7 separate regions of the Homo sapiens genome follow, and all the other regions are linked to region 1. The links are contacts of gene promoters, found by promoter capture Hi-C in blood cells and fetal thymus (Javierre and others, 2016). All regions are on one chromosome and are shown on one strand. Each heading gives the region's core, a stretch centred on a gene start or on the middle of the fragment in contact. The rest is flanking DNA. Distances are from core to core; before and after follow the strand shown. Region 1 holds the start of DYNLT1 (dynein light chain Tctex-type 1). Region 2 has its middle 24 kb from the start of FNDC1. Region 3 overlaps SERAC1 (serine active site containing 1). Region 4 overlaps GTF2H5 (general transcription factor IIH subunit 5). Region 5 overlaps LOC112267968. Region 6 has its middle 33 kb from the start of GTF2H5. Region 7 overlaps LOC112267968.

What was found. Contacts are between HindIII fragments. The CHiCAGO score rates a contact against its expected background, and 5 or more counts as called.
Region 2: a fragment that was not itself captured here is called in contact with the fragment with the promoter of DYNLT1 in region 1 in 2 of 17 cell types (neutrophils and total B cells); the score reaches 5.9 in neutrophils.
Region 3: a contact is called between a fragment that was not itself captured here and the fragment with the promoter of DYNLT1 in region 1, in 1 of 17 cell types (M2 macrophages). The highest score is 7.0, in M2 macrophages.
Region 4: a contact is called between a fragment that was not itself captured here and the fragment with the promoter of DYNLT1 in region 1, in 1 of 17 cell types (M2 macrophages). The highest score is 5.9, in M2 macrophages.
Region 5: a fragment that was not itself captured here is called in contact with the fragment with the promoter of DYNLT1 in region 1 in 9 of 17 cell types (neutrophils, non-activated CD4 T cells, activated CD4 T cells and 6 more); the score reaches 11.5 in neutrophils.
Region 6: a fragment that was not itself captured here is called in contact with the fragment with the promoter of DYNLT1 in region 1 in 11 of 17 cell types (megakaryocytes, M2 macrophages, naive B cells and 8 more); the score reaches 13.5 in megakaryocytes.
Region 7: a fragment that was not itself captured here is called in contact with the fragment with the promoter of DYNLT1 in region 1 in 3 of 17 cell types (neutrophils, fetal thymus and total CD8 T cells); the score reaches 9.1 in neutrophils.

The regions. Positions count from the first base shown.
Region 1 is chr6:158,642,888-158,645,996 of GRCh38, reverse strand. It overlaps DYNLT1 (dynein light chain Tctex-type 1), which reads left to right and starts at 1,254. Exons shown (of 5, transcript NM_006519.4): 1 at 1,254-1,315. The coding sequence starts at 1,289. It also overlaps a transcript of SYTL3 not described here. RefSeq lists silencers at 1,097-1,326, 1,487-1,816 and an enhancer at 940-1,883. The HindIII fragment of the contact is 7,871 bases long and covers 1-3,109 here.
Region 2 is chr6:159,143,678-159,146,786 of GRCh38, reverse strand. No RefSeq gene overlaps it. Among named protein-coding and RNA genes, the nearest start is that of FNDC1, 24 kb to the left of the region's middle. The HindIII fragment of the contact is 5,231 bases long and covers 1-3,109 here.
Region 3 is chr6:158,150,815-158,153,923 of GRCh38, reverse strand. All of the region lies in intron 3 of SERAC1 (serine active site containing 1), which reads left to right. Among named protein-coding and RNA genes, the nearest start is that of SERAC1, 16 kb to the left of the region's middle. The HindIII fragment of the contact is 2,922 bases long and covers 340-3,109 here.
Region 4 is chr6:158,182,562-158,185,670 of GRCh38, reverse strand. All of the region lies in intron 2 of GTF2H5 (general transcription factor IIH subunit 5), which reads right to left. Among named protein-coding and RNA genes, the nearest start is that of GTF2H5, 16 kb to the right of the region's middle. RefSeq lists enhancers at 1,460-1,962, 1,963-2,467. The HindIII fragment of the contact is 1,658 bases long and covers 763-2,420 here.
Region 5 is chr6:159,107,102-159,110,210 of GRCh38, reverse strand. All of the region lies in intron 1 of LOC112267968, which reads left to right. LOC124901449 reads right to left here. Exons shown (of 5, transcript XR_007059837.1): 1 at 2,563-3,109; 2 at 2,058-2,462; 3 at 1-896. Among named protein-coding and RNA genes, the nearest start is that of FNDC1, 61 kb to the left of the region's middle. RefSeq lists a silencer at 2,362-2,431. The HindIII fragment of the contact is 1,832 bases long and covers 622-2,453 here.
Region 6 is chr6:158,199,792-158,202,900 of GRCh38, reverse strand. No RefSeq gene overlaps it. Among named protein-coding and RNA genes, the nearest start is that of GTF2H5, 33 kb to the right of the region's middle. The HindIII fragment of the contact is 7,369 bases long and covers 1-3,109 here.
Region 7 is chr6:159,088,009-159,091,117 of GRCh38, reverse strand. All of the region lies in intron 3 of LOC112267968, which reads left to right. Among named protein-coding and RNA genes, the nearest start is that of TAGAP, 45 kb to the right of the region's middle. The HindIII fragment of the contact is 5,565 bases long and covers 1-3,109 here.

The DNA.
Region 1 (3,109 bases), core at 5-2,504:
AAATACGTTCTTGCAAACTGAGAGAAGTGCTATGAGGAAAATGTACAGGATGCAGGGGTGGAGGATGAGGAGGTCGGCTACCTTAGATGCCGTGGTCACAGAATGGCTCTCTGTAGGAGATTTTGAGCTAAGATATGTTAAAAGTTTAGTCATCCAAAGATCACTAAGATTAGTCTATAGTCTGACAACTTAGTAACTATTGACTTATGGCAGGGCAGAATGGGTGAGGGGAGGGAGGAGTCGTTGGGTTAGGTTCCTCTTGAAGGGCTCTAATAAGACCCTGATAGACCGACCAGGTTACAGTCCGATGGTCATAATCCAGATGAGAGATATCAATCTTTAACTGGGGTCCCGAGCATATGGGGTAGAAATAACAAGGGTTGTTGATGGATTAGATGTGGGATTTGAAGTTTAGGTCTACCAAATCCCTGGGACCCTTGCAGTCAGCTCTTTCTTGGGGAATGGGAAGTGGGTTCCAGCAACCTGAATTCAAGTGCATGACGAAACCAGAAAAAGCAAACGCCAAAATCAAAACTCGGAGCCTCAGAATACCTGCCAATAGATGCATATGCCCCAGCTTTCCGTGGAGGGCAGTTTACCAGAGCCCAGTGCAATTCCTAATTTCCATAAAGAACCCACATACAAATAAAGTCTGTCTAGTTCACTATGGTTAAGGTAGTCAGGAAGTGTGCCACATTTTACAAAATTTTCCACCCAAAATGTTTTTTTTTAATGGTGCTTAAAGGAAAAATTCTCATTTACCTGGAAAACTTAACTCCCCAAAGGGAAGTTTCGTTCAGATAGCTAAAGCATGCCAATCCCAGTCCCCAAGGGAACTGCAACAACGTCTCACCGGGCGCACTGCCTTCAGCAGTCACTTTCGAGTTTGTTGCCAGGTGTCCGAGCGGGTTTGAACGTCCGCGTCAATCCACACAGTACAAACCGGAGGAGGGGCCGGGACCACGCTTCCCCTCCAGGACTGCCTTTTGTACGTGTGTTTTGTTTCTGTTGCTAAGGTTTAGGGAGCTGCCCGGCTACCCTCACGGATTCCCATGGAAACTACCACCTCCCAGAGGACAGGAGGAGAGGCGAATTCAGGGTCCACCCACGGGCCCCGCCCAGGGATGGGGTCACTGAGGGTCCGGGCAGCGAAGGGCGGGGCCCGGGAGCTGGGCATGGGCGAGGCAGGCGCGAGAGGAGAGGGGCGTGGCAGGTCCGGGGCGGGGCCTGAGTGCGCCTGCGCAGTCCGCGCCACTCAGGGAGCCGGAGGGGACGCGCCGGAGGAAAGATGGAAGACTACCAGGCTGCGGAGGAGGTAACCGCCGGGTCGGCGACGGAAGGGTGGAGGCCTAGAGCCCTGGCCGCGGAAGGACACGCGGTCCTGCCCGGAAAGGCCTGGCTGCCCACCTCCTTCAGCTAGGCCAGTCTCGGCAGCCCACGGCCTGAGCTTCCCGGTCGCCGGCGCTCCGCCCGGCCCCATTCTGCCCGGACATTGCCGCCGTTTCCCCGGCGCGGGGGGCGGGAAGGGGATTGAGCTTCTTCCCGCGCGGGGAGGCACCGGGCGTGACTCGGAGAGAGCGCCCCGGTGAGCGGTGCCGAGAAACCTTCCCGCAGGGCCTCGCCTCCGGCCCGCAGCCAAGCTCGCCGAGAGGATGACATCACCGCCCCTTGCTCTGCGGGGCTGACCCCAGCCCCAGCCCCAGCCTGGAGCGGGGCGCGGCGGCCGGGCTGGGAGCGCCGAGGCTTGGACGTCTCCCCGCGGAGGTGCGGGTGACGCTCCCGCCGCCAGCCCCTCCGCCCCGGGCTGGCGTCCCGGCCATCCCGCGCCTTTGTCTCGGGCCTCACCTGGTTCTGCAACGCTGGGAATGAGTAGCACATTTCATTTCCGTTTAATATGTCTGTAAGAAAGCTCATTGTTGTGGGGAAAAAATCATCTTTTATGCCTCCTTGAGGAAGTAGGATAAAGCCCACGATGTCGCCAAGCAGAAGACACCCATCGGCACCGTGTGCGTTAAATGGCTTTCCTTCAAGCTCACGGTCATTCGGGGAATAGAGCTGATGGGCGCAGCTGAGATACAACACTCATTTTCTTCTTACTGAATAATCCTTGTTGAAATTCAGATAGAGCCCTATGGATTTATTATGCAGCCTGTCAAAAATATAAACTATAGATACATTTGGTAAGGTTGGATATCTTACCATTTATGAAATTTAGTGGCTGGGCGCAGTGGCTCACGCCTGTAATCCCAGCACTTTGGGAGGCCTAGGCGGGCGGATCACCTGAGGTCAGGAGTTCGAGAGCAGCCTGACCAACATGGAGAAACCCCGTCTCTTTTAAAAATACAAAATTAGCCGGGCGTGGTGGCGCATGCCTGTAATCCCAGCTATTCGGGAGGCCGAGGCAGGAGAATCCCTTGAACCTGGGAGGCAGAGGTTGCCGTGAGCCAAGATCGCGCCATTGCACTCCAGCCTGGGCAACAAGAGCGAAACTCCGTCTCAAAAACCAAAAAAAAAGAAAAAAATTTCGTTTAAGGAGGAATGTTTTCAGGGAAAATAAAACTAAAACTTAAGGACTGATTCTAGAGTTTCAGTTTTGATCTGATTTCCTAACTAGCACACACTTCCTGTGACAGTGGCATAATCAGTGTTTGAATGCTGATGGCAACCAAGTGAATAATGACGAGAAGAGCTGGTTCAGGAGCAGTTGGCAAAGAAAAAAGCCTTTCCCCTTAAACTGTTACTAATATAATATTGGAAAATGTCTTGTATTACAGTAATATCGAGTAAAACTTCTAAAAAAGAAATCGCTTTGTAAAGGAAAGCGCTTAATACTGCAGTCCGATTCTGACTCCCACAAATAAGGTGGCTAAGTGGCTTCATTATTCGAGATCTCAATCGCATATGTGTAAAATGAAGGGGCTGGACAGAGTGATGAGTGTTCTACCTGGGATGGAGGCCCTGGGAGGTGGAGACCATGGCTGTCTTGTAGTAGGCATGTCTTAGGTATTTACTGAATGGCCCGTTCTGGTCCTCCCACCAGCCTCTTAGCAGCCTTTTCTGCATCTCTTCTAACTTCGTGTAGATGCCTGGGCCTTTGTAACTATTCTCT
Region 2 (3,109 bases), core at 219-2,718, 500 kb before region 1:
CCAGCACATTCCGTCAGCATGCATTATCTATTCTCCCTGTTCTTCCCCAGGCTGAGATTGCTGACTGATCACCAAACCCACTTCTACCGCTACTAATAAACATAGGAAGAAAGGTTTTTAAACGTTCTATAACATGTTTATATGAACTATTCAAGGATTAACTTCTAAAATGACACAACAAAAAGGCCCTCACCCGATGCTGGTACCTTGATCTTGGTCTTCCCAGCCTCCAGAAGTGTAAGCCAATTAATTTCTGTTTATTATAAATTACTTAAGCTCAGGTATTCTGTTATAGCAGCAGAAAATGGACTATATTTCCCAAATAGATTAAATATTTGGAGCCAGAGTATAAGAAATCATTAGAGTCAGGTTTCATTTGGTTTAAATTTATAGTCAAGACTAGTCAAAATTTTACTAGAGATGCAAGAGTTCCCTGAGATATCAATTACCATCAGTTATGGTGTACTCAGTGTTTGTTGTTCCTTGAAAGAGGGAAAATGTAATTGAAGGGTAATAACTCAAATACAAAGGAGAAGTAAAGGTGCAGAAAGTAGTGGGAGGGTCAGATGTTCTAAAGGCTATTTTTATGTACTTCAAAGCCCACCTTTATAGCAATTACCGCTGCTGCATACAGCTGCAAAGATTGCTCAAGAGGCTTCATTCCAAATACATTCAGTGCATATTTCATTTTAGTGAAACAAAAATAATCTAGTCTTTTAGTCTACTATGTTGTGAGTCCCTGAGGACAAGAAGAGAATTTTCGTCATCTTTGTATCCACAGCCTATAACAGTTTCCCCACAATTTGGAGGTGTTCAATAAAATGTTTGGGCATAAACAAAATCTCACAAATTATTAGGTGGAGCCAAACCTGTACCAAACAATAAAACCAAAGTTTTCCATGACTTAGTCATTAAAAAGAAAAATAAATGAACAGTGACTTAAGATGAATATAAGAATATAAGGTAGAGTCAAACCTGGTAGCTCACGTCTGTAATCCCAGTAACTCAGGAGGCTAAGGTGGGAGGATTGGTTGAGACCAGAAGTTTGAGATCAACTTGGGCAACATAGTGAGACCCATCTCTACAAAATATATTTTTTAAAAACTAGCCAGGCACCATGGTGGTGTATGCTTGTAATCCCAGCACATTGGAAGATCAAGCAGGAAGATTGCTTGAGCCCAAGAGTTCAAAGCTACAGTGAGCTATGATTGTGCCACTGCACTTCAGCCTGGACAACAGAACAAGACCCCATCTCAAAAAAAGAATATAAGGTAAATAAACAAAATTAATGCTTTTCCCATGTATATTAACAATAATCTATTACAGATTAAAATATAAAAGATTCCCTTTATAAAAGCAATCAACTCATACATTACCTAAGAATAATTTTATTGTTTAATGAGACCTAAAATGGAGAACTATTGATCTTTATCTAGAACCTTTAAAAAAGGGCTTAACTAAATGAAGAGATACTTTCTTCATCAAATATAAATTGCCATAGATGATAAGATGTACCATTATTGTATATAACACTAAGAAATAAAACACTGCCAATTAAGTTATGAAACATCATCTATTGTAAATAAATCCTAATTTCAAACATGTTATAATGTGGGGGCAGGGGAAGTTTCTGAGCCTCAGTGAAATATATTATGTTCTAAAATACTCAGACCGAATATGATAAAGATATTGATTCTTTCCAAATTAAAGTATGAGTTAAATGTACTTCTGATGGGACCATAAATTGTAACCTATCAAAATATTTAAGTAAATTTTTACATATTCATTAACATGTAGCAAGAGACTTAAGATGTTTACTATATTTAATTTCTGTGAATTTTAAGGAATAATCAGATTTATGCAAAAAGATGTCCACTCCACCACTTGAAAAGTGGAAAATTAAGTCTGGGCAATGTAATGAAACCCCATCTTTATCAAAAAAATTAGCTAGGCATGGTGGCATGTGCCTGTAGTCCCAGCTATTCCAGTGGCTGAGGTGGGAGGATCACTTGAGTGTGGGAGGTTGAGGCTGCGGTGAACTGTGCTCACACTATCACACTCCAGCTTGGGTGACAGAGTGAAACCCTGTCTCAAATAAAAAAAAAAAGAACCTAAAAATCCAATAATGGGGGGATGATAGTATAAAATTTAGTACATGTATCTGATTACATATTTAGCTATTAAAATTCAGTTTATACATAATTTTTAAAGACATGAAAAATATATAAAGGTATAAAGTTACAAATAAGGGCATAAAACCATATATGCATGTATCCATTTTAAAGCATACATAGAAAGAAATGGAAATACATGTATGAAATGTTATTACTAGTTATATTCTGCAACAGCAAAATACATCAATAGACATGCTGTTAAAACAAAATGAAAGCACATTTTGAAAGGCCTAAAACGTGATTTACAAGAACTACAGGTATCCTGGGGCAAAAAAAAAAAAAACCGTTTATTCAGGGGTGTGACGATTTGGTAATATGTCAACACAACTAGGATAAACTACACTTCCCAAAATTCCTTTTGATATGGTTTGGCTGTGTCCCCACCCAAAATCTCATCCTGAATTACAATAATCCCCATGTGTCAGGGGCGGGATCAGATGGAGATAATTGAATCAAGGGGGCAGTTTCCCCCATACTATTCTCATGATAGTGAGTTCTCATGAGTTCTGATGGTTTTATAAGGGGCTTCCCCCTTCACTTGGCTCTCTTTCTCTCCCCTACTGCCACGTGAAGAAGGAAGCGTTTGCTTCCCCTTCACCATGATTGTAAGTTTCCTGAGGCCTCCCCAGCCATGCAAAACTATGAGTCAATTAAGCCTCTTTTCTTTATAAATTACCCAGTCTCAGGTATGTCTTTATTAGCAGTGTGAGAACGGACAGCTACTACATCCTTGCTGGAAGTTTCTAGTTAGGGTGGCCACAAAAGTGATCATTGTGCAAGATTTGGAGGGAGAAAGGAAATAACAGCCATGTGTGGCTTGCACATTGTCACTTAAATGCTGGCTCCCTCACTGGCATGAAGGGGTGGCCACCAGGCCTGCAGCTGTGCCTCCTTCCTGGGATTTCCTCTCCAGCCTCTCTGATTCTTGGGCCAGA
Region 3 (3,109 bases), core at 551-3,050, 490 kb after region 1:
CCTGAGCTCAGGTGATCTGCCCGTCTTGGCCTTCCAAAGTGCTGGGATTACAGGCCTGAGCCACTGCCCTTGGCCGAGGGCAGAGGATTCTAAAGAGGCTTCTTTGTGTTCCTCTGGTGCTAGCTAGTATCTGGACTTTGTTTTACCTGCTTGCCTGAGGGTAGAAACCAAAGGTCAGAAGAAGGTGCTAAGCTCTGAATCCAGAGTGCAATCTTTGTGTCAGGATTTAGGGAGTGTGTAAGTCAATCTGATTAGGAAAAAAGAAATCTTCATTTTGAGATTCACAACAAACAACATTTAAAGTTAACTTCAGGTGTTGCTCTTAGGAAAGGAAAAGCTTTCATATGCTGATGATGGGAGTACACATTGGCTAATCTTTTTGCAAAAACGGTTTGTCATTCTCTAGTAAAATTGAATATGTATACTATCAGAAGGTATGTAATTCTAGATACCTGTACGTGTAGATAGAGGAACACGTACTGTATGCACAGTACAGATGTATAAGATATGTCACAGCATTGTTGTAACAGACTCAAACTAGAAACGTTCTCAATACCCATCTATGGGAGAGTGAATAAGTAAGTTGTAGTATATCCATGCAATGGATAATTGCATACTATACGAAAATCTAAGTGCGGGAACTACATTTTACATGCAACAACATGGATAACTCACAAATACAAGGCTGAGCAAAAGAATACATGTAGTGTGATTCCATTGATATGAATTTCAAAAACAGGCAAAACTAAGCTCTGTTGTTTAAGGATGCATATATAGGTGGTAAAACTGTAAAGAAAAGCACATTGTTATAATAAAAATCAGAATCATATATAGAGATGAGAACAGATCATTATCCGGGAGGGACACATTGTGGGTTTCTGGGGTTCTGTTAACATTCTGTTTCTTGCCTGGATATGATTATGCAGCTATTTATTATTTGTAAGCCGAAATGTGTATATACATGTATATGTATATATACAGTCATGTGTCAATAATGGCGATACATTCTGAGTAATGTGTTGTTAGGTGATTTCATTGTTGTGCAATCATCACAGAGTGCACTTGCACAGACCTGGGTGGCAGAGCCTACTCCACACCTAGGCTGTATGGGACAGCCTGTTGCTCCTAGGCTCCAAACCTGTGCAGCCATGTGACTGTGCTGAACACGGTAGGCTATTATAACACAATGGGAAGTATTTGTGTACCTAAACGTATCCAAACAAAAAAAGGTACAGTAAATAAAATTTTAAAATGGTACACTTATATAGGGCACTTACCATGAGTGGAGCTTACAGGACCTGGAGTTGCTCTGGGTGAGTGAGAGTGAGGGCCTAGGACATTACTGCACACTACTATAGACTTTATCAACACTGTGTACTTAGGCTACATTACACTTTTTTTTTTTTCGGAGATGGAGTCTTGCTCCGTCGCCCTGGCTGGAGTGTAGTGGCATGATCTCGTCTCACTACAACCTCTGCCTCCTCGGTTCAAGCAATTCTCCTGTCTCAGCCTCCTGAGTAGCTGGGATTACAGGCGCCCGCCACCATGCCTGGCTAAGTTTTGTATTTTTAGTAGAGCCTTGGTTTTGCCATGTTGGCCAGGCCGGTCTTGAATTCCTGACCTCGGGTGATCCGCCCGCCTCGGCCTCCCAGAGTGTTGAGATTACAGGTGTGAGCCACTGTGCCTGGCTGAACTTTGTGTTTTCTTTAAAGGCAGAGTCTCACTGTGTTTTGCCTAGGCTGGCCTTGAACTCCTGGATGCAAGTGATCCTCCTGCCTCAGCCTTCTAACTAGCTGGTACTACAGGCATGCACCACTGCACCCAGCTACACTATATTTATAAAACAATATTTTTTTCTTCAATAATTAACCTAGCTGGATGTAGTGGTGTGGGCCTGTAGTCTCAGCTATTCGGGAGGCTGAGGCAGGAGGATGACATGACCCCAGAAGTTTGAGGCCAGCCTGGGCAACGTGGTTGAGACCCTGTCTCTAAATATAAATAAAGTCCTGGCTTTAATAATTAACCTCAGCTTACTGTATTTTTTTTTTTTAACTTATGAACTTAAATTTTTGAAAAACTTTTTGACTTTTGTAATTACACTTAGCTTAAAACACAAACACGTTGTATAGCTATACAAAAATATTTTCTTTCTTTATGTCTTTATTCTATAAACTTTTGTCTGTTAAAAAATATTTTCGAGGCCGGGCGCGGCAGCTCACGCCTGTAATCCCAGCACTTTGGGAGGCCGAGGTGGGTGGATCACAAGGTCAGGAGATTGAGACCATCCTGGCTAACATGGCGAAACCCCATCTCTACTAAAAATACAAAAACAAAATTACCCGGGCGTGGTGGCAGGCGCCTGTAGTCCCAGCTACTTGGGAGGCTGAGGTGAGAGAATGGCGTGAACCCAGGAGGTAGAGCTTGCGGTGAGCCGAGATTGTGCCACTGCACTTCAACCTGGGTGACAGAGTGAGACTCCACCTCAAAAAAAAAAATCTTTTTGAGACGAGGTCTTGCTCTGTCGCCCAGGCTGGAGAGCAGCGGCTACTCGTGGGTACAGTCATAGCATGCCGCAGGCTTGAACTCCTGGGCTCAAGGGATCCTTCTGCTTTAGCCTCCCGAATAGCTGAGACTACGTGCCTTGCTACTGTGCCAGCAAAATTTTTTTTTTTAACTTTTTAAATGTTTTTGTTAAAAATGAAACACAAACCCATTAGCCTAGGCCTACACAGGGTCAGGATCATCCATATCACTGTCTCCACCTCCGCATCTTGTCCCACTGTGAGGTCTTCAGGGGCAGTGACATGCATGGAGCTGTCATCTCCTGTGATAACAACACTTTCTTCTGGATGCCTCCTGATGGACCTGCCCTAGGCATTTTACAGGTAGGTAGAAGGAGTACACTCTGAAATAGCAATAAAAGTATACTATAGTGAATACATAAATCAGTAACATTTATTATTATCAAGTATTATGTACTATACGTAATTGTATGAGCTAGACTTTTATAGGACGGGCAGCACAGTAGATTTGTTTACACAGCATCACCACAAACGTGAGTAATGTGTTACGATGGCTACTCAGTCACTAGGAGACAGGAATTTTTTAG
Region 4 (3,109 bases), core at 342-2,841, 460 kb after region 1:
AATGGTATTCCGCACACTTGGGGAAATATGCTAACTGACAAATGAGACAGCTTAGAGGAATGACTGGCCAGTGAACACTGAAATAACGCTTTAATATCAATCGCTTCAAACTTTTTTTTTTTTTTTTTTTGAGACAGGGCCTCACTCTGTTGCCTAGGCTGGAGTGCAGTGGCACAATCCCAATTCACTGCAGCCTCAACCTCCTAGGGATGAGGTAATCCTCCCACCTCAGCCTCCTGACTAACTGGGTCTACAGGCGCACGCCACCATGCCTGGCTAATTTTTGTATTTTTTGTAGAAATGGGGTTTCACCACATTGCTCAGGCTGGTCTTGAACTCCTGGGCTTGGGCGATCCTCCAGCCTCGGCTTCCCAGTGTTGGGATTACAGGCGTGTGCCACCGTGTCTGGCATGCCTCAAACTTTTGAAAGACAATTTGAGATTGAATTTTCAAGCATGTACCTGAAGTAAAGATAACATGTAATGATTTAAAAAGACTCTTTAATTATTAAAAAAAAAAAAAAGACACTCAAAGTTTAAGGGACATTTTGTCATGAAACACAAAGAGCCTGGAATATTCCTATCTGAACACAGAGCCATTCCACTTCTATATTGAGAGTAGCAGAAAAAAAAACAAAACCCAAAGCCAAGAGCATATATACATACTTGAAGTCCCAGGATCAAGGCTATTGTACAGAAAAGAAACAACTTTGCCCTGGAAGTGTGAAGGGCAGATATCATGAAACCTTCTCCTAAAGAAGCTTAGTATAGCTCCTATAAAGTATGACTCTGAAAAGGATTATAGCATGATAATGGTATAATGGTAACCAGGATGATGCAGTGAGCTGTAAAATAGTCTGGTCAAAGCTGTCAGCACTGACAATCCATCAGAACAATCTTGGCTTAGTCAATGGTAAACTATCTTTCTTGATAATAACTGGCCAACAGATATTACTTAAAAAATTTTTAAGTATTACTCCATAAATTCCATATATCCTGGGAGTAGACTGTCTTAGGTTTATTTCCCCTTTAAAAGCATTTTCCAAAGTGTTTTCTGAGTCTGGGTTTTGTTCAATCTGAGATATGGGTGTCTAGATTAGAGCCCAGAACATTATAGGTGCTCAATAACAATTTGGTACATGAGTAGGGTCTTAAGAGAAGAGACACCATAGGAGACATTAAGTTAACCAGAAACACAGCTACCATTTTCCCAAGAAAACATATAATAGGGGTTTTACTGTTACAAAGACACAAAAGTCTAAAGAGAGTACTGGACCCAGAAAGCCTAGCCCCAGACCCCAGCTCTGCCAACCAAAATATGTATAATGTATAAAGTTACTCAACCTCTCAACTTCTCAGGCTTCTAACTAGAAATGAGAACAGGAATTCGATGCGGCTCCTCCTTCACATGTTTTTCCTTTTTTTTTTCCTTTTCTTGTCCCACTGATCAGAAAACCCAAATCACTACCTTGCTGGTGATGTACCCGCTAACCCCAAGGCTTTAATTATACAAAGAAAATAGCCATTCTTCTGTGCTCTCATGTGTAACCATGCCTTTTACTTAGGAAATCTAAGTATCAAACCAAGGTTGTGGAGTGTCCCACCTTGGAAAATAAAGCTGAACAACTGAGTCACTTCCAAGATGGCCAAATAGGAACAGCTCTGGTGTACAGCTCCCAGCAAGATCGACACAGAAGACAGGTGATTTCTGCATTTCCAACTGAGGTACCTGGTTCATCTCATTGGGACTGGTTGGACAGTGGGTGCAGCCCATGGAGGGCGAGCCGAAGCAGGGCAGGGTGTCGCCTCACCCAGGAAGTGCAAGGGGTCAGGGGATTTCCCTTTCCTAGCCAAGGGAAGCTATGAGTGACTATACCTGGAGGAGCAATACACTCCAGCCCAAATGCTGCACTTTTCCCACTGTCTTCGCAACAAGCGGACCAGGAGATCCCCTCCTGTGCCTGGCTCGGTGGGTCCCACGCCCACGGAGCCTTGCTTGCTGCTAGCGCAGCGTCTGAGATTGACTTGGGACACCGGAGCTTGGTGGGGGGAGGGGTGACCGCCATTGCTGAGGCTTGAGTAGGCGGTTCCATGCTCACAGTGTAAACAAAGCAGCAGGGAAGCTCAAATTGGGCAGAGTCCACTGCAGCTCAGCAAGGCCTACTGCCTCTCTAGATTCCACCTCTGAAGGCAGGACATATCTGAACAAAAGGCAGCACACAGCTTCTCCAGACTTAAACGTCCCTGCCTGACAGCTCTGAAGAGAGCAGTGGTTCTCCCAGCATGGCATTTGAGCTCCGATAATGGATAGACTGCCTCTTCAAATGGGTCCCTGACCCCCATGTAGCCTGACTGGGAGACACCTCCCAGTAGGGGCTGACAGACACCTCATACAGGCAGGTGCCCCTCTACGATGAAGCTTCCAGAGGAAGGATCAGGCAGCAATATTTACTGTTCTGCAGCCTCCACTGGTGATACCCAGGCAAACAGGGTCTGGAGTGGACCTCCAGCAAACTCCAACAGACCTGCAGCTGAGGGTCCTGTCTGTTAGAAGGAAAACTAACAAACAGAAAGGAGTAGCATCAACATCACCAAAAAGGACATCCACACCAAAACCCCATCCATAGGTCACCAACATCAAAGACCAAAGATAGATAAAACCACAGAGATGGGGAGAAACCAGAGCAGAAAGGCTGAAAATTCCAAAAACCAGAACACCTCTTCTCTTCCAAAGGAACACAACTCCTCACCAGCAAGGGAAGAAAACTGGATGGAGAATGAGTTTGACGAGATGACAGAAGTTGGCTTCAGAAGGTCGGTAATAACAAACTTCTGTGAGTTAAAGGAGGATGTTCTACCCATCGCAAGGAAGCTAAAAACCTTGAAAAAAGTTTAGACGAATGGTTAACTAGAATAACCAGTGTAGAGAAGAGCTTAAATGACCTGATGGTGCTGAAAACCACAGTACGAGAACTTCGTGAAGCACATACAAGCTTCAATAGCCGATTTGATCAAGCAGAAGAAAGGATATCATTGATTGAAGATCAAATTCATGAAATACAACAAGAAGACAAGATGAGAGGAAAAAGAATGAAAAGAAATGAACAAAG
Region 5 (3,109 bases), core at 288-2,787, 460 kb before region 1:
AAAACGGCCAATTAGATGCTGTAGTTACCAGCTCTCACCAGTAGGAGACACACAATCGCCACAGCTGTGATCATTTCCCTTCAAGATGGAGCCCAGGGATGGAGAATTCAGTTTGGGAATGGAGGCAAAGGTGCTTTTATAAATATCAAGAAAATCTTGGGATCTGAAGATCACACATGGCCCTCTGCAAGAGGTTGCACGGCGAGGACATTTGGCAAGTTCCACTGTACCTCTTTCTCTACCCAGCACCTGCTTAGAAAGGGCAAAGGTTGTGGCAGTAGCAGGGAGGTGTGGGATGGCCCCCAAGAAGGGTGGACACAGAGACCCGGGAAGGAGGAACTGGATCTGTAGCCAGCAATGCATATATTTAATTTTATTCCATGATTTCTTCCAGGATTAGCTAACTCTATCCACCCATCCTGGCTTATGTGGTCACCTCCTGAACATGGGGTCCAGTCCACATGAAATCACCCTCCTATCAGCTTGTTCCTCCATTCCTTCTTCCAGCCAGATTGTTACTCTATGCCCTGGGACCTGAGCATGCCTGGCCCATTCCCAAGCCTGCCCTGGGCTTCCTGGTATTTCTACTTCCAGCTCATACCTCACTTCCTCCAAGAAGCTTTCCCTGACCTCTCTAGTCCAGCAAGTTCCTCCTCCACCGAGCCTCTCCCACTGGCCTTTCCACAGTTAGGCACTTTCTCCAATGCTGCCTGTTGGGTCACTTGCCTTTTCATGTAGCACCATGAGGACAGGGACACTCCTTGTCTGTACCTTTTCATGTAGCACCATGAGGACAGGGACACTCCTTGTCTGTACCTCCTCAGGAGTCTGCAAAGGGTTCTGCATGGAATCTGGGCGATGTTGACTGCAGAAAGACTGGACAAGTGCCAGGTAATCTGTAGGTGTGCAAGAATGAATGGAAAAATTTTAAATATCCACTATAGACAGAGGGAAAAAAAAATCCTATTTGAAATGTTACCTTGCCCCTAGGTTTGAATTTAAGAGGTATTTTCTCCAATTTGATCATCAAAATATGACAAGTGAATGCTGTTGCTATGAAGTCTTATGAAGATCTTGCATGTTATCCAGGCCTCGGGTTCCCTCTTCTCTCTCTAACAAAATATAGTTTAAAATTTTCACTTGTGGGCTGGGCGCAGTGGCTGACACTGGTAATCCTAGCACTTAGGGAGGCCAAGGTGGGCAGATCGCTTGAGCCTAGGAGTTCAAAATCAGCCTGGGAAACATGGCAAAACTCCATTTATTTAAAAAAAAAAAAATTAGCCTGGCATGTTAGCGTGTGCCTGTACTCCCAACTACTCCAGAGGCAGAGACAGGAGGATCGCTTGAGCCAGGGAGGTCGAGGCTGCAGTGAGCCTTGATTGCGCCACTGCACTCCAGCCTAGGAGACAGAAGGAGACCCTGTCTCAAAATAAGAAAATCACTTGTAATTTTGCTTATTTAGTATTTGGTGAATGAACTCATTAGAAGTCACATTATCAGCCACCGACTCCGGTCAGCCGTGGGCTGGGAGAGAAAGGGAGAGCAGAGCAGATGCAGCTCCCGCCCTCCTGGAACATGACATCATCTAATTTGTTCATTCAACAGAAACTTCGCACACACTTACAAAGCACCCCGCTCTGTTCTAGGTGGGCTCTGGGGATAGAAAACTGAGTAAGAGAATGTGGTCCCTGTCCTTAGGCACACATTATCCATTGGAGAAAACAGCTGAACCAGGCACAAGTCACTAAGTTCCCAGTTTCTCAGAGGGTTTGATGAAGGTGTTAGATATACAGAATCACTCTAATACTATGTCTGAAAAAAAAAATACTTCCCATTAAAGAGCAAGGTTGTAGGAACATTTTGAGGGCAGGAAAGGAAGAGCAACTCTTCACTCTACGCTCAAAAAAATCTCCCGCCTGGTCTCTGATAGCTTCATTTCTTTTCACGAGAAAATAAAGCATTACATTTCATAAAAGACAAGGCTTAGAAAGCTGACTTCAACTACTGTCATATTCCCAAGGGGAGCAAGGAAACGCAGGGGAAAACACAAGGCATACCCATTTTACAGATAAGGAGACTGAGGCTCTGTGGGGAAGGTTTAGCCGGTTGGCTGGGCTTGCGGGTGAGTTAGAGGAGGTGGCACTGCTCCAGCCCACATCCCTGGTTCTCAGGCATCCCTCTCTCCCGGGCTCCTCCATTAAACTCTGCGTGCCAGCCCAGGGCACCAATCATGGGCAGAGTGGGCTCTCCGCTGCCTCGTGGGGTCCCAGCAGAATTAACTTTCATGAAGCAAGTTAGAGAAAAGTTAAGAAGAGCAGCCTCAATGCAGGTTGCTAAAGCCCAGCCCCACTGAGCAGGTGCACGGAGCCAGCCTGCTGTTCTGCAAGCACAACCCGCTAGATGCCAAACCAGTGTGTTGCAGGTGGTCTGAGCCAGGAAGTAGATCTGAAGCTTCAGGGTAGCTGTGTGAGTGAAAAAAAAAAAAAAAAAAAAAAGAACGTGATTCCTATCTGACCGATGACTCAGAAGTATGAACTGGGGGGCCTTTCCTTCCTGACCCACCTGACAGGGCCATGGCCGACACAGCCGTGTGTACACCAGTGAGCCTGTCACATCGCGGGTCTGCTGTGACATTCTGTCGAGCCCGAGGCAGAATCCAGTGTGAGCAGATTTCTCACGCTCCAGGCTTCCCTCACAAAGCTGCGTTTCCCTCAGCTACTTCTTTACCTATTTGGAAAGAATAGCAGGAAAAGGAAAGATGGATCTTGGTGAATCTTCCAAAAATCCTGTACTGGATTCCAGAGCTGGACTACTCAAAGGTGTGAAATTGGATCTCCTCCTCTTTAAAAACTCTTTTCCTGGGGTCTTCATACTCCCCACTTCTTCCTCTCCCATAAAAACCTGGTTTTAGGAAGGGAAGACATCAAATCATTCACCTGGAGGAGTACATGAATAAGAGCACCTTACCATGTACTTGCCTTTTAACAGAGATCAAGAAACATTTTGCAAAGGAATGAGTGTTACCAGATAGGAAGTCGTGACTGTGAGTTGTCCAGGTTCTTGGCGTGTTGGACAAAGGATTTAATAAAATGCACAAAGCAACAAAGGA
Region 6 (3,109 bases), core at 287-2,786, 440 kb after region 1:
AAACTTTGGGAGACGGATACATATAACACATATAGAATATTATCTATCCATATGGTCATGGTCTCTGCCTCATTAAACATTTTTCTTTTTCTTTTTTTTTGTTTTTTGGAGACAGAGTCTCACTCTGTTACCCAGGCTGGAGTGCAGTGGCATGATCTCGGCTCACTGCAATCTCCGCCTCCCAGATTCAAGTGATTCTCCTGTCTCAGCCTCCTGAGTAACTGGGATTACAAGCATGCACCACAACGCCTGGCTAATTTTTTGTATTTTTAGTAGAGATGGGGTTTCGCCATGTTGCCCAGGCTGGTCTTGAGCTCCTGAGCTCGGGTGATCCCCTGCCTTGGCCTCCCAAAATGCTGGGATTACAGGGTTGAGCCACTGCGTCCGGCCTAAACATTTTTCTTTAACTTCTATTTCTCTATGACACCATCACTTTGGGTGTTTGAGCTTAGCTACTCAAAATGTGACCTGCCAGACAGCAGCACTGCCATCCCCTGGAAGCCTTCTAGAAATGCAGAATCTCAGGCCCCAGCCCACACCCACTTAATCGGAATCTGCATTCTAAGGACTTCCAGATGATTTGTAAGTACTTTAAAGTTGAAAAGCACTGATATAGACTAAGAAGCCCTCAAAGGCATATCTGCCTCAGTCAAGACCATAACAACTTTATGCTGGAAAATTTTCAGAGTGGCTTTTGGACCAATTGCCCAGTATAGTCATAGTTAGAGGTTTAAACACTCATAGAACATTTACTTTTAGACATGGTAGCTTCTACTACCATATCCAAAGTGCAATAGTTACAAATTACAGCTGCAAATAGCACCTGATTTAATGTGTTTTTTTTTGTTTGTTTTTTTCTCTGTTGCCCAGGCTGGAGTGCAGTGGCACGATCTCGGCTCACTGCAACCTCCGCCTCCCGGGTTCAAGCAATTCTCCTGCCTCAGCCTCCTGAGTAGCTGGGATTACAGGTGCCCGCTACCACGCCCAGCTAATTTTTTTGTATTTTTAGTAGAGACGGGGTTTCACCATGTTGGTCAGGCTGGTCTCGAACCCCTGACCTCGTGATCCACCCGCCTTGGCCCCCCGAAGTGCTGGGATTATAGGCATGAGCCACCGCGCCCGGCAGATTTAATGTGTTTGATAAAACTGACATAAGACTAACCCTTCCATTCCATGTCCACAGAAGTTCAAAACCTTCCAAGATTTCTGTGAATTCTTCATGTCACTAAATTAGTTGTGTTTGTTTATCTCTCACGGACCTGCCTCTGCTCTCCCTGTTTTTGTGTGTCAAACTCAACTTCTGTCCTTAATTTAATAAAATATAAGTCACACATCCAAATACCTTATGTAAGTGCAGATGTTACTGAGGGCTTGAGGGAGCCGGAGGAGTGATGAGAGCTAGGTAAACCAGTTAATACTGAATTAGACATCTACCTCCGAAAGACTCTGCCTGAGAAAGGATATGCTGACATAGCTTAAGAGTTTGTTTCACACACACACACACACACACACACACACACACACACACACACACAAAAGCATGGTAAACAGTAAATAAACACAAGACTAAAATATCTTAGTGAATTTATGTTTAAAAAAAAAAAACTTAACCAATTATGAGTGCTGCAATGACTTTCCTCCGTCTAACCAAAGGATCCAACTCAAGCTAGCTACTGTCAATAAATAAGATCCTGCAACGACTTGGGGAATCAGTTATCTAATTAGTGAATTTTAACAAAAGCTGGTTCCTTGCTGGGCAGACTCAGCATTTCCTTGGCAGTAAAAGGAAACAGCTGTGCTGGTAGATTAGCCTACTGGAAACCGAACGAAACCCAAAAACAAAACCTCCTACCCAGAGTCTCCATTGTGCACACACCGGCCCAGGAGTTCTCAGCTCTGAATGCACAGCAGAAGCACCAGGCAGGCCTTTTAAAGATGCTGACGCTTGGGTCATATCCCAGAACAACTAAATTTGAATGACTGGGGGCTGAGGCCAGGCATCAACATTTTTAGAAAGCTCCCCATCTAAAATCAGAAAAAAAAACTTTCCTCTGAAATAGAAATCCTGCTTCAGGTTTTTCATAAAGGAGCATGAAAAATTAAGGGAAAAGGCAAGTGTCAAAGCAGTGTGATCTCATTGGGATAGGGAGTAGAACTCTTTTTTTTTTTTTTTTTTTTTGAGACAGTCTTGCTCTGTTGCCCGGGTTGGAGTGCAGTGGCGTGATCTCTGCATACTGCAAGCTCTGCCTCCCGGGTTCATGCCATTCTCCTATCTCAGCCTCCCAAGTAGCTGAGACTACAGGTGCCCGCCACCACGCCCGGCTAGTTTTTTGTATTTTTAGTAGAGACGGGGTTTCGCCGTGTCAGCCAAGATGGTCTCGATCTCCTGACCTCGTGATCTGCCTGCCTTGGCCTCCCAAAGTGCTGGGATTACAGGCGTGAGCCACCACGCCCAGCCAAAACTCTTTTTATATTCTTTAAAAAAGTGAAGATTGTCATTAGCTTTTAAAATTTTTTTTGAGGCTGGGCGTGGTGCCTCACGCCTGTAATCCCAGCACTTTGGGAGGCCAAGGCGGGTGGATCATGAGGTAAGGAGATCGAGACCATCCTGGCTAACACGGTGAAACCCCGTCTCTACTAAAAATACAAAAAACTAGCCGGGTGTGGTGGTGGGTGCCTGTAGTCCCAGCTACTTGGGAGGCTGAGGCAGGAGAATGGCGTGAACCCGGGAGGCGGAGCTTGCAGTGAGCCAAGATCGTGCCACTGCACTCCAGCCTGGGAGACAGCAAGACTCCGTCTAAAAAAAAAATGTTTTTTGACACAGGGTCTCACTTTGTTGCCCAGGCTGAAGTGCAGTGGTGCAATCACGGCTCACTACAGCCTTGACCTCGTGCTCAAGCGATCTTCCTGCCTCAGCACCTCCCCCAGCCCCAGTAGCTGGGACTACAGGCATGCATCATCATGCCGGTCTTTTTTTTTTTTTTTTTTTTTTGAGGCAGAGTCATGCTCTGTCATCCAGGGTGGAGTGCAGTGGTGCCATCTTAGCCCACTGCAACCTCTGCCTCTTGGGTTCAAGCGATTCTCATGCCTCAGCTTCCCCAGTAGCTGT
Region 7 (3,109 bases), core at 155-2,654, 440 kb before region 1:
TGCAGGCGGGCCTGCAGGGATGGAGGGGAGGGAGCAAGAGCAGGAGGACAGAGGAGGAGGTCAGCAGGTGGCGGGCGGCAGATCAAACAGAGTTTCATGGGCCTTGGCAGGGCTTTGGCTTGTTTTCCTTGCTGAGTGAGATGGAAAGCCATTGAAAAAAATGACAGCAGAGTAATAATATGATCTCACTTCTGTGTTAAAAGATTCGGTCTGGCTGCTTTGCTGAAAATAGTGTAGGGCTCAGGGAGATGCCAGGGGTAGGAAGAAGGGGAAGTGTTAGAAGATGACTGCAGAAAATCCAGGCATGGGATGATGGTGGCTCAGACTGGAGAAACTGCAGCTGAGGCGGTAAGACGGGACTGGATTCTTAGTTCATTTTGAAGGTGAGACCAACCTGCCAAATTGGAGGTGGGGCTTTCTCCCCTTTTGGGAAAAATCAAAGAGGACTGAAATTCCCTGGCCTGGAATTCACATCTTGATGTATTTAGTAGCCAACAGCAGCTCTGTGAAGTTGGTATCACTTCTTCATCGCACCTTGCATGCTTGCCCAAGTCACAGAGTTATAATATAATAAAGGATGAAGTTGCCGTCCACTGAGATGAGAAAGGGTGGAGTGAAGCAGGTTCTGGACCTGTGAGATCAGCAGTTCAGTGTTGGACGTGTGGGCTCGAGATGCTGTTAGACGTCTGAAGGAAAATGGTGGGAGGCAGTTGGATATTGGAGTCGCCCATATTAGTTTTCTATTGCTGGACAAGTTTGCTCCAAGATTTGGCAGCTTACAACAAGGATCATTTATTAACCCACAGTTTCTGTGGGTTGGGTTTCTGAGAGCCATGTAGCTGAGTGGTTCTGGTTTAGAACTGCAGTCAAGGTGTTAGACAGGGCTGCAGTCCTGTCTAACAGGTAGTCTAGTAGGTAATGAGGATGACCTCATTACCTCATTTGAAGGCGAGTTTGAGGAAGGATCAGCTTCCAAGTTCACTCACACAGGTGGTGCAGGTCTTGGAAGATCCACTTCCACGCCCACTTGTGTGGCTGTTAATAAACCTCAGATCCTCATCCTGTGAACCTCACATGGCCCCTGGCTTACCCCAGAATGAGTGAGCCGAAAGAGAATGAGAGAGTACCCAACATAAAAACCACAGTAGTTTTATAACCTCATCTTGGAAATGACATCCCATCATTTCTGCCATCATCTACTCACTAGAACCAGTCAACAAGGGTTGGTGGACATATTTTTTAAAACCATCTCATTGACATACAGATTATATTTAAAGCCCTGAGTGTAATGAGAAATGAAAAGGGGACCAAGGACCATATCTTGGATACTTCAACATTAAAAGGTTGGGGAGAAGAGGAGAAATCATCAAAGGAGGCCAAGAATGAGAGGCTTGCGAGTGGGAGGACAATCATGAGACTGTGGCATTTTGGAACCAAGTAAAGAAAGTGCATCAAGGAGGAGAGAGTGAGCAACTTCAGCAAATGCTGCTGTGGGATAGGGTTAGTCGTTTATACTGGCTTGCCCAGGAAGGTCCCAGCTCACATCTGCTTTCGTCCTGGTGTTATTACTTATCAGGCTCCCTTTTGCTCTCAAAAGGAGGCAGATTTGACAAAGAATCTTATGGACATCCCATACCCAAGTCAAGTAATGTGAGCACTGAGATTTGGGGATTGGATCAGGCATCATAGAGGTCACTGGTGATAATGAGCGATCAGTGTCTAATTGTGTCTTACTGTGGGACATACATCAGCATACCTTTGCATTCAAAATACTTTTCCTACTAAAAGCTATTACAGAGCTAAGTAAACTATTAGCTAATATTAGTGTAAGTATAACATAAAATATCAAATTAAAGTAAGATTTTAAAAAACATAAGCTCAATTCATTCACTAAATTTTAACTCTTCTCAATCACTATTTAATGTAATTACAGATGATGTGAAAGTTTGAGTACATCTAAGTTCATTTTATGGAGCTGAGTGTGGTGGCTCACACCTGCAATCCCAGCACTTTGGGAGGCCAAGGCGGGCAGATCACTTGAGGTCAGGAGTTCGAGACCAGCCTGGCCAACATGGTGAAACCCCATCTCTACTAAAAAATATGAAAATTAGCCAGGCATGGTGGCGCACGCCTGTAATCCCAGCTATTTAGGAGGCTGAGGATTGAACCCGGGAGGCGGAGGTTGCAGTGAGCTGAGATCATGCCACTGCACTCCAGCCAGGACAACAGAGCAATATTTTGTCTCAAAAATAAATAAATAAACAAATTCATTTTATGAGTTACTTATTTTGAAAAAAATTGTCACAATTGCAATGCTATAAAATTGTTTTCAAAACAAAATAATTTGGCAAACAGGCAAAAAGAACATCTTTAATAATGATCCAAGTTGATAAAATAGAAACAGACATAACAAGATTCATATTTATTCCTAATTATTCACGAAACGTTTTACATGTGATAAAATGTATAAAAGCTCTCATCATGGCTTGTTCCCTGGTGTCATAAACATCCAAATGTCCATGGCTGTCCTGAATCTTGTCTTCCCCGCTGGACACTTATGAAGGATGACCTCATTACCACCCATCTCCACTTAGCCTATGCCAAATTTTAATACCAAGGTCGATCATTCCTATGGCCCAGGCACCAGGTTTATCGCTTCATACGTCTTGATGTATTTAGTAGCCAACAGCAGCTCTGTGAAGTTGGTATCTCTTCTTCATCGCACCTTGCATGCCTGCCCAAGTCCCAGAGTTATAATACTCCCTCACGGTATGTTGCCATTTGTCAAGTGACAACTTACTTAGATGAATTATTAAACTTTGTTTAAAAAATTCTGGCTTATTTTTGACATCTTAAGGAAGTAGAAAGCTGATGTTAACTTTCATTTTACATATTATTTAACAATTTTTTTCTTGAGATTGTTGGCTTCATGGAAAAAGTCACCTCCATCCACAGGAACAGTAGATTACATTTAAAATATTTTTTTCTTATTTGTACAAATGTATGGGGTACATGTGAAATTTTGTTACATGTATATAATGTATACTGATCAAGTCAGGGTATTTAGGATATCCATCACCCACGTACAATACATTTTTGTTTAACCATA